2 separate regions of the Homo sapiens genome follow, and region 2 is linked to region 1. Evidence: promoter capture Hi-C in 16 types of primary human blood cells and fetal thymus (Javierre and others, 2016). All regions are on one chromosome and are shown on one strand. The core of a region is centred on a gene start or on the middle of the fragment in contact, and the rest is flanking DNA. Distances in the headings are between cores, read along the strand shown.

What was found. Contacts are between HindIII fragments. The CHiCAGO score rates a contact against its expected background, and 5 or more counts as called.
Region 2: a fragment that was not itself captured here is called in contact with the fragment with the promoter of XCR1 in region 1 in 3 of 17 cell types (neutrophils, naive B cells and erythroblasts); the score reaches 7.6 in neutrophils.

What each region holds. Positions count from the first base shown.
Region 1 is chr3:46,026,101-46,031,357 of GRCh38, forward strand. It overlaps XCR1 (X-C motif chemokine receptor 1), which reads right to left and starts at 1,383. Exons shown (of 2, transcript NM_001024644.2): 1 at 1,317-1,383. RefSeq lists a silencer at 3,952-4,121 and an enhancer at 4,721-5,221. The HindIII fragment of the contact is 606 bases long and covers 1,242-1,847 here.
Region 2 is chr3:46,371,838-46,377,773 of GRCh38, forward strand. CCR5 (C-C motif chemokine receptor 5) reads left to right here. Exons shown (of 2, transcript NM_001394783.1): 2 at 1,055-4,369. The coding sequence starts at 1,066. The coding sequence ends at 2,124. The region is part of intron 2 of CCR5AS (CCR5 antisense RNA); the gene reads right to left. Among named protein-coding and RNA genes, the nearest start is that of CCR5, 3.9 kb to the left of the region's middle. The HindIII fragment of the contact is 1,948 bases long and covers 764-2,711 here.

The sequences.
Region 1 (5,257 bases), core at 133-2,632:
ATTTGACAAAGCTCAACACCCTTTGATGATATAAACTCTCAGCAAATTAGAAATAAAAGGGATATTGGACATCTATAAAAATCATTCATTTTTTTTGCTGGTTATTAATTCATTTACTCAAAAATTTCAGAGGCAGTCATGTTCTGGGCCTGGAAGCCTTTGGAGATAAAAAGGAAAATGATGTCAAATCTCAAACCCCTCCAAGTTACATTCAGTGAACTGGCTCCCTTTTGCTGGTTGTCTCTCTCCCTCCCCATCTCTGTGGCCCACCTCAACTCTAAGGGAGTGAATTTAGCTTTCTGGACTGTAATATAATTTAGATTGAGAAAGACAGCTCTAAATTATACAACCACCAGTAATAACAAGGCCTTACATAAAGATATGTAGCCAAATAAACCTCTCTACTTCTTTCAGCATAAGAAAAATATTATTTATATGTTAGGTCTACTCAAAGTATGGTTCCCAGATCCATTTTTCTTCTTCTTCTTTTTTTTTTTTTTGAGATGGAGTCTCGTTCTGTCCCCTAGTCTGGAGTGCAGTGGTGTGATCTTGGCTCACTGCAAGCTCCGTCTCCCAGATTCATGCCATTCTCCTGAATCAGCCTCCCAAGTAGCTAGGACTACAGGTGCCCGTCACCACACCTGGCTATTTTTTTGTATTTTTAGTAGAGACGGGGTTTCACCATGTTAGCCAGGATGGTCTCAATCTCCTGACCTCATGATCCACCTGCCTTGGCCTCCCAAAGTGCTGGGATTACAGGTGGGAGCCACCACGCCCAGCCAATTTTTCTTCTTTGATTTTTTTTTTTTTTGACAGGGTCTCGCCCTATCACCCATGCTGGAATGCAGTGGTGTGATCACATCTCAACCTCCTGAGCTCAAGTGATCCCCTCACCTTAGCCTCCTGAGTAGCTGGTAGTACAGATGTGTGCTACCACACCTAGCTAATTTTTTGGGGTATTTTTTGCAGAGATAGGGTCTCATCATGTTAGGTAAGGAACTCCTGGACTCAAGAAATCTGCCAGGCCAATCCGGAACTCCTGGACTTAAGCAATCTGCCAGCCTTGGCCTCCCAAAGTGCTGGAATTACAGGCATGAGCCACTGCGCCCAGCCCAGATCAGCTTTTCTGAAAAGAATGCAGATTCTTGGGAAATCCCTATACCAAAGGAATAAGAGCCTTCAGAGGTAGCTCAGGAATCAGCATATTTACTAGCCCTCCAGGTGGTTCTGATGTGCAGCAAAGCTTAAGAACTCCTGATATAGGCTGTTACAATTAGAGGAAAACATAAGTTTAAAATGTTTGTAAAGGAACTCACCTGAATCTACACCTCTTTACATGCGTCTTGAGGCAGAAATGGTGCTTCTCTGTTTCATATTTCACTTAAAGAAACTGAAACACCTGTCCTGCCCAGAAGGCTGGAGGAGGAGGATGGGAGGAGTCTCAGAGAGAGCCAGGGGGCCAGAGGGGGACAGCTAGTGAGAGAGGAGGAAGGAAGAAGCCAGTCAGGCAGGCAGTTAGGGTGGATCCTTGGTGGAACTCCTTCAAACCAAGAACAGCCTGAAAATCAAGCTGCAAGCCCTGGATAAAGAAAAGAGCCTGCATGTTTGAATAGAAACGCCTACTCCATGAATCCAGATGAACAAATTCCACTCCTTTTTTGAACATATATCCCTCTCCTTGGCACGCCTTTGTCTCATTTCACATGCTTCCTCCCGATTGGTCCTTACCTTTTACCTGTTTAACATATACCTATCTTTCTGTGATTAGCTGCTCGCCAAATTTTCATTTGCATAAAGTGTAACGTCACTTCAGCCCCTGATTGGTCCTGGGCCAAGGTCTCAGTCCAAGCTTTCACTTCAGCCCCCAATTGGTTCTTTACACTATTGTACCTCTTCCTGAGTAGTGCTTTTTCCAAGCCTACCCATAAACCAATCAGCACGTATTTCCTCATTCTAAGCCTGTAAAAACCTGTGACTCAGACTTTTAGCTAGCAACCCTCTTTTGGGTCCCCTCTCTTTGCTGAGAGCTTTTCTGTGGCTTAATAAATCCAACTCTGCCTTCTTCACTCTCCAGTGTCTGTGTGCCTTATTTTTCTTGGTCGTGGGACAAGAACTTGGAGCTCACCAGTGGGGGGAGTAAAAGAGCTGTAACACTCCCTCCCACTCACCAAACAACAGGAGTGAAACAGCTGCAACAGTAGGAGACAGTTTTTCCACATCCTTAATGAATAAAGATGTTGAGCATCTTTTTATATGTGTATTGGTCATTTGTGTATCTCTTTGTAGAAGTGTCTATTCAGAACCTTTGCCTTTTAAAAATTTGAGTTATTAGTCTTTTTATTATTAAATTGTAAGAGTTATTTCTACATTCTGGATACTAGATCCTTATCAGAGATATGATTTAAAAATAATTTATCTCATTCCTTGGGTTTCTTTTTAATTCTTCATAATACCCTTCGACACACAAATGCTTTACATCTTCTTTTTCTTTTCTTTCCTTTTTTTTTTTGAGGCAGGCCCTCACTCTGTCACCCAGGCCTGAATTCAGTGGCATGATCAGCTCACTATTGCCTTGAACTCTGGAGCTCAAGAGATACTCTCGCCTCAGCCTCCTAAGTAGCTAAGACTATAGGTACACAGCACCACATCCAGCTAATTATTTTAATTTTTTTGTAGAGACAGGGTCTCACTATATTGCCCAGACTAATCTTGGACTCTTGGCCTCAAGTGATCCTCCTGCCTTGCCCTCCCAAAGCTCTGAGATTATAGACCTGAGCCACCATGCCTGACCTGTTTTTAACTTTCACGAAATCTAATTTATAAATTATTTCTTTTGTTGCTTGTGATTTTGCTGTTGTAGTTAAGAAATCCTTGCCTAGTCAGGTTATAGGGATTTATAGCTATGGCTTAGCTCTGAACTTTCAGTTATATTCCATTGGTCTTTGCATCTATCCTTATGTCAGTACCATAGAGTTTTGATTACCTTTGTAGTAAGTCTTGAAATCACAAATCCTCCAACTTTGTTCTTTCTTCTATTCAAGATTGGAGACATATAGATCAATGAAATACAATGGGGAAAGCCATACATCTATGGTCAATTGATTTTTTGTTTGTTTGTTTTGAGACAGGTTCTCACTCTGTTGCCCCGTCTGGAGTGTAGTGGTGCGATCATGGCTCACTGCAGCTTCAATCTCCCAGGCCTAAGTGATCCTCCTACTTCAGCCTCCTGAGTAGCTGGGACTACAGGTGCACACCAACATGCCTGGCTAATTTTTATAGAGACAGGGTTTTACCATGTTTCCCAGGCTGGTCTTCAACTCCTGGGCTCAAGTGATCTGCTTGCCTCAGCCTCCCAAAGTGCTGGGATTGTCAACTGATTTTTGACAAGGGTCAAAAATCAAGACCATTTACAAGGCCATTCAGTGTTAAAAGAATATTCTTCTTAACAAATGGTGCCAGGAAAACTAGATAGTCATATACAAGACAAAGTTGTACTCTTACCTCACATCATATACAAAAATTAACTCAAAATGGATTAAAGAGCCAGATGCAAGGGCTAAAAAACCTACAACACTTTTGTGTGTCAAAGGACACTATCAAGAAATTTTAAAAGAATTTTGATGGAAATTGCATCGAATTTGTAGATCAGTTTGGGGAGTATTGCCGTTTTAACAATATTGGGTCTTCCAATCCGGGAACACTGAAAGTCCTTCTATTTACATATGTCTTCTTTAGTTTTTTTTCCACATTGTTTTGTGGTTTTCAGTGAGTAGATTTTGTGCATTCTTGGTTAAATTTATTCCTAAGTATTTTTATGCTATTGTAAATGGAATTGTTTTGTTAATTTCATTTTCAGATTGTTCATTGCTACTGTATAAAAATACAACTGATTTTTATATATTGATCTTGTACCTTGAGCTTATTTATTAGCTTTAATAGTTTTTTGTTTTTGTTTTTGTTTTTTTGGTGGATTCTTTCAGTTCTCTATGTACTATAAAGTCATGACATCTGCATATAGAAATAGTTTCACTTCTTCCTTTCCAATCTGGGTACTTTTCCCCCCACCGTGTTTAGTTGTCCTGGCTGGAACCACCAATGCAATGTCAAATAGGAGAGGACAATGGACATCATTGTCTTGTTTCTGATCTTAGGAGAAAAGCTTCTAGTCTTTCACTACAAGTATGATGTTAATTGTGGGTTTTTAATACATGCCTTTTATCAGATTAGGAAATTCCCCTCTATTTCTAATTTGTTGAGTGTTTTTATCATGAAATGATGTTGGGTTTTGTTAAATGCTTATTCTGCATCTCTTGAGTTTATTGTATGGAAATACCACAGATTTTTTTATTCCTTCACCTATTGAAGGACATCTTGGTTAATCCTATTTCTTTGAAATTATGAAAAATACTTTATGCACTATACACTATGTATAAAAAAGTATTTTATACACGATATGTATTTGAATGCAGGTTTTTGTTTACACATAGTTTTGAGCTCGATTATAACTAGGAGTGTGATTGGATTATATGATAATAATGGCAGTGGTGGGCCATCCAGAGCAGCTGCTACCATCATGCCAGCTGCAGCAGGGAGGCATGAGCGGTGGTGGCAGGAGCAGCTGCAGGAGCAGCAGTGGGGGTGGTGGGACCTCTGTGCCCTGCATCCCCATGCCCTGCATCCCTGAGGCAGCTTACTGCACACCACCCCTACCCTTGCATGGCCGGGCAGGACCTACTCTCAGGCCTGGAGCCTCTGCCGCAGCCTCAACTCATTCCCTGCCGTGTTCTGGGAGCCTGTGAGTATCTGGCCAAAGGTGTAGCTGGGACTTTCAGGGCTAGCCCTGGGAGTGTCAGGTTCATTTGTGCGGGGTTGGCCAGGGCCACCACGCCACCTGCACCTTGCCCAGAACCACTGTGGGGAAAATGCGGAGAGGAGGTGTGGCTGGGGCTGCATGCTCCACACAGCCGGCAGGAGCTGGGGACAAATGGGAGCCCTGCCCCTTAGAAGTTGGTGGGACACGGAACTCCCCAGGCACAACTGCAGCTGCTGAAGCCATGGCTGTGACTTGGGCACCCCTGTGCTCTTGGGAGCTAGGAACAGGCAGGAGCCCCGCCCTCCAAGGCACTGCTACAGCCACCCTGCTGTAGCTATGGATCCAGGCATCTCTGCACTGTCGGGGGCCTGGGAAGGTCCCCCGCTGCCCACAGGCTTGGAAGTACCTGCTCCTGCTGTTTGGCTTCTCCCCACTGTCACTGCC
Region 2 (5,936 bases), core at 488-2,987, 350 kb after region 1:
CCTTCCCTGGGACTTGGGCACCCGGCCATTTCACTCTGACTACATCATGTCACCAAACATCTGATGGTCTTGCCTTTTAATTCTCTTTTCGAGGACTGAGAGGGAGGGTAGCATGGTAGTTAAGAGTGCAGGCTTCCCGCATTCAAAATCGGTTGCTTACTAGCTGTGTGGCTTTGAGCAAGTTACTCACCCTCTCTGTGCTTCAAGGTCCTTGTCTGCAAAATGTGAAAAATATTTCCTGCCTCATAAGGTTGCCCTAAGGATTAAATGAATGAATGGGTATGATGCTTAGAACAGTGATTGGCATCCAGTATGTGCCCTCGAGGCCTCTTAATTATTACTGGCTTGCTCATAGTGCATGTTCTTTGTGGGCTAACTCTAGCGTCAATAAAAATGTTAAGACTGAGTTGCAGCCGGGCATGGTGGCTCATGCCTGTAATCCCAGCATTCTAGGAGGCTGAGGCAGGAGGATCGCTTGAGCCCAGGAGTTCGAGACCAGCCTGGGCAACATAGTGTGATCTTGTATCTATAAAAATAAACAAAATTAGCTTGGTGTGGTGGCGCCTGTAGTCCCCAGCCACTTGGAGGGGTGAGGTGAGAGGATTGCTTGAGCCCGGGATGGTCCAGGCTGCAGTGAGCCATGATCGTGCCACTGCACTCCAGCCTGGGCGACAGAGTGAGACCCTGTCTCACAACAACAACAACAACAACAAAAAGGCTGAGCTGCACCATGCTTGACCCAGTTTCTTAAAATTGTTGTCAAAGCTTCATTCACTCCATGGTGCTATAGAGCACAAGATTTTATTTGGTGAGATGGTGCTTTCATGAATTCCCCCAACAGAGCCAAGCTCTCCATCTAGTGGACAGGGAAGCTAGCAGCAAACCTTCCCTTCACTACAAAACTTCATTGCTTGGCCAAAAAGAGAGTTAATTCAATGTAGACATCTATGTAGGCAATTAAAAACCTATTGATGTATAAAACAGTTTGCATTCATGGAGGGCAACTAAATACATTCTAGGACTTTATAAAAGATCACTTTTTATTTATGCACAGGGTGGAACAAGATGGATTATCAAGTGTCAAGTCCAATCTATGACATCAATTATTATACATCGGAGCCCTGCCAAAAAATCAATGTGAAGCAAATCGCAGCCCGCCTCCTGCCTCCGCTCTACTCACTGGTGTTCATCTTTGGTTTTGTGGGCAACATGCTGGTCATCCTCATCCTGATAAACTGCAAAAGGCTGAAGAGCATGACTGACATCTACCTGCTCAACCTGGCCATCTCTGACCTGTTTTTCCTTCTTACTGTCCCCTTCTGGGCTCACTATGCTGCCGCCCAGTGGGACTTTGGAAATACAATGTGTCAACTCTTGACAGGGCTCTATTTTATAGGCTTCTTCTCTGGAATCTTCTTCATCATCCTCCTGACAATCGATAGGTACCTGGCTGTCGTCCATGCTGTGTTTGCTTTAAAAGCCAGGACGGTCACCTTTGGGGTGGTGACAAGTGTGATCACTTGGGTGGTGGCTGTGTTTGCGTCTCTCCCAGGAATCATCTTTACCAGATCTCAAAAAGAAGGTCTTCATTACACCTGCAGCTCTCATTTTCCATACAGTCAGTATCAATTCTGGAAGAATTTCCAGACATTAAAGATAGTCATCTTGGGGCTGGTCCTGCCGCTGCTTGTCATGGTCATCTGCTACTCGGGAATCCTAAAAACTCTGCTTCGGTGTCGAAATGAGAAGAAGAGGCACAGGGCTGTGAGGCTTATCTTCACCATCATGATTGTTTATTTTCTCTTCTGGGCTCCCTACAACATTGTCCTTCTCCTGAACACCTTCCAGGAATTCTTTGGCCTGAATAATTGCAGTAGCTCTAACAGGTTGGACCAAGCTATGCAGGTGACAGAGACTCTTGGGATGACGCACTGCTGCATCAACCCCATCATCTATGCCTTTGTCGGGGAGAAGTTCAGAAACTACCTCTTAGTCTTCTTCCAAAAGCACATTGCCAAACGCTTCTGCAAATGCTGTTCTATTTTCCAGCAAGAGGCTCCCGAGCGAGCAAGCTCAGTTTACACCCGATCCACTGGGGAGCAGGAAATATCTGTGGGCTTGTGACACGGACTCAAGTGGGCTGGTGACCCAGTCAGAGTTGTGCACATGGCTTAGTTTTCATACACAGCCTGGGCTGGGGGTGGGGTGGGAGAGGTCTTTTTTAAAAGGAAGTTACTGTTATAGAGGGTCTAAGATTCATCCATTTATTTGGCATCTGTTTAAAGTAGATTAGATCTTTTAAGCCCATCAATTATAGAAAGCCAAATCAAAATATGTTGATGAAAAATAGCAACCTTTTTATCTCCCCTTCACATGCATCAAGTTATTGACAAACTCTCCCTTCACTCCGAAAGTTCCTTATGTATATTTAAAAGAAAGCCTCAGAGAATTGCTGATTCTTGAGTTTAGTGATCTGAACAGAAATACCAAAATTATTTCAGAAATGTACAACTTTTTACCTAGTACAAGGCAACATATAGGTTGTAAATGTGTTTAAAACAGGTCTTTGTCTTGCTATGGGGAGAAAAGACATGAATATGATTAGTAAAGAAATGACACTTTTCATGTGTGATTTCCCCTCCAAGGTATGGTTAATAAGTTTCACTGACTTAGAACCAGGCGAGAGACTTGTGGCCTGGGAGAGCTGGGGAAGCTTCTTAAATGAGAAGGAATTTGAGTTGGATCATCTATTGCTGGCAAAGACAGAAGCCTCACTGCAAGCACTGCATGGGCAAGCTTGGCTGTAGAAGGAGACAGAGCTGGTTGGGAAGACATGGGGAGGAAGGACAAGGCTAGATCATGAAGAACCTTGACGGCATTGCTCCGTCTAAGTCATGAGCTGAGCAGGGAGATCCTGGTTGGTGTTGCAGAAGGTTTACTCTGTGGCCAAAGGAGGGTCAGGAAGGATGAGCATTTAGGGCAAGGAGACCACCAACAGCCCTCAGGTCAGGGTGAGGATGGCCTCTGCTAAGCTCAAGGCGTGAGGATGGGAAGGAGGGAGGTATTCGTAAGGATGGGAAGGAGGGAGGTATTCGTGCAGCATATGAGGATGCAGAGTCAGCAGAACTGGGGTGGATTTGGGTTGGAAGTGAGGGTCAGAGAGGAGTCAGAGAGAATCCCTAGTCTTCAAGCAGATTGGAGAAACCCTTGAAAAGACATCAAGCACAGAAGGAGGAGGAGGAGGTTTAGGTCAAGAAGAAGATGGATTGGTGTAAAAGGATGGGTCTGGTTTGCAGAGCTTGAACACAGTCTCACCCAGACTCCAGGCTGTCTTTCACTGAATGCTTCTGACTTCATAGATTTCCTTCCCATCCCAGCTGAAATACTGAGGGGTCTCCAGGAGGAGACTAGATTTATGAATACACGAGGTATGAGGTCTAGGAACATACTTCAGCTCACACATGAGATCTAGGTGAGGATTGATTACCTAGTAGTCATTTCATGGGTTGTTGGGAGGATTCTATGAGGCAACCACAGGCAGCATTTAGCACATACTACACATTCAATAAGCATCAAACTCTTAGTTACTCATTCAGGGATAGCACTGAGCAAAGCATTGAGCAAAGGGGTCCCATAGAGGTGAGGGAAGCCTGAAAAACTAAGATGCTGCCTGCCCAGTGCACACAAGTGTAGGTATCATTTTCTGCATTTAACCGTCAATAGGCAAAGGGGGGAAGGGACATATTCATTTGGAAATAAGCTGCCTTGAGCCTTAAAACCCACAAAAGTACAATTTACCAGCCTCCGTATTTCAGACTGAATGGGGGTGGGGGGGGCGCCTTAGGTACTTATTCCAGATGCCTTCTCCAGACAAACCAGAAGCAACAGAAAAAATCGTCTCTCCCTCCCTTTGAAATGAATATACCCCTTAGTGTTTGGGTATATTCATTTCAAAGGGAGAGAGAGAGGTTTTTTTCTGTTCTGTCTCATATGATTGTGCACATACTTGAGACTGTTTTGAATTTGGGGGATGGCTAAAACCATCATAGTACAGGTAAGGTGAGGGAATAGTAAGTGGTGAGAACTACTCAGGGAATGAAGGTGTCAGAATAATAAGAGGTGCTACTGACTTTCTCAGCCTCTGAATATGAACGGTGAGCATTGTGGCTGTCAGCAGGAAGCAACGAAGGGAAATGTCTTTCCTTTTGCTCTTAAGTTGTGGAGAGTGCAACAGTAGCATAGGACCCTACCCTCTGGGCCAAGTCAAAGACATTCTGACATCTTAGTATTTGCATATTCTTATGTATGTGAAAGTTACAAATTGCTTGAAAGAAAATATGCATCTAATAAAAAACACCTTCTAAAATAATTCATTATATTCTTGCTCTTTCAGTCAAGTGTACATTTAGAGAATAGCACATAAAACTGCCAGAGCATTTTATAAGCAGCTGTTTTCTTCCTTAGTGTGTGTGCATGTGTGTGTGATGTATACAAAGAGAGAGATAATTGTATTTTTGTATTTTCTTTTAAATAATTTTTAAAATTGACCCTTTTCCTGAGACAAATTGCCAGAATAGTTTGTATTTAGAGATGGTACCTCTAAGAGTAAGGTTGCTGGTTGCTGAGCAATTGACTTGAAAACTTTTAAAATTCAAATTTTAATTCCACTACTCAAAAGAATTGCCATGTTTTAAAAAAGAGAATTGGTGCCATAAGTTAGTTGTCTATGTTTGAAAATGAAGAAGATATGCAACGTCATGGCCTGGTCACTTACCCGCAGCCCTGAGTTGTAGGCACATCATATGTGAGAATGAGGATGCTTTTCTTTCATTTAAAATCCCTCCCCAAAACTTGGCTCTAATTGCAGTCATGACAATCATGTACATTTGGATTTATGTGCACGAGTCTCTTACCCTGAGAGAGGACAGGTGCTACAGGTGGAGGGGACCCGTCTGGGTCACGTTCACATTTTGAACATGCTGGTTTTCAGTCACTGCACACTCATCTCCCAGCACAGGTCATGGGCAGCAGATGCAAAAGCTGCCCGTGGTCCTATTTGGAGGTGCATGAAATGAGCAGAAGACAGAACAGCTTGATCTGACTAGAAGGGCAGCTTGTCCCTACCAAGACTTGAAGGATTGCCTTTCATCTGTTAGGGTAAAAGGTAGAATGAACCAAGGAAGGGCAGGAGGGGGCTGGGGTTAGGGTAGAAGGAAGGGGCCATGGAGAAGGGAGATCCATCCCATAGGAGGAAGGCAGTGCGGCAGGGAGGTTTGAAGGTATCAGCTTTTGTGGCTGACATACATGCAGTCATGTCAATTGCTCGTTTTTCCTTTTCCATCTTATTAAATGTCTTCCAACGTTAGCACGAAGAAAAGCTATTTGCAGTGTTGCCAGCCTTTCCAGAGCCCGTCCCCATTACCTCCCCAGGCCCATGCCTTTACTCCTTGGAGTTTCAACTCACGACCTTCAGGATCTGACTTTATTCACCAACTCTGGGGTGAACGTACCTTCTGTCTCCACCCAGAGGTCTCTATCAAAGAGGAGATTGCATGCCATGGATAAAGTCAAAGTAGAGGTGACTGTCCTTAGGAAGAGTAATGTGAAAATTCATAAACTGGGATTCTGTTTACATTTTGTACTCCAGGGGTTCTTAGTTTAAATCGCTCTGAATAAATTAAGATGCAATGGCATTTCAACTGTTATGATTAAATTTACAAATCATTTATTTTCTATCACGGGGAGAGATAGAGCTCCAAATGCAAACATAACTGCTCAAGTGTTAACACTTATAATGAAAACATAAGAATTACCACCAACTACCCTGGGGGCTAGAAGCAGAAATGTGAACCAGAAAACAAATCATGAACTTTCCTTTTTTTTTTTGAGATGGAGTCTCGCTCTGTTGCCCAGGCTGGAGTGCAATGGTGCGATCT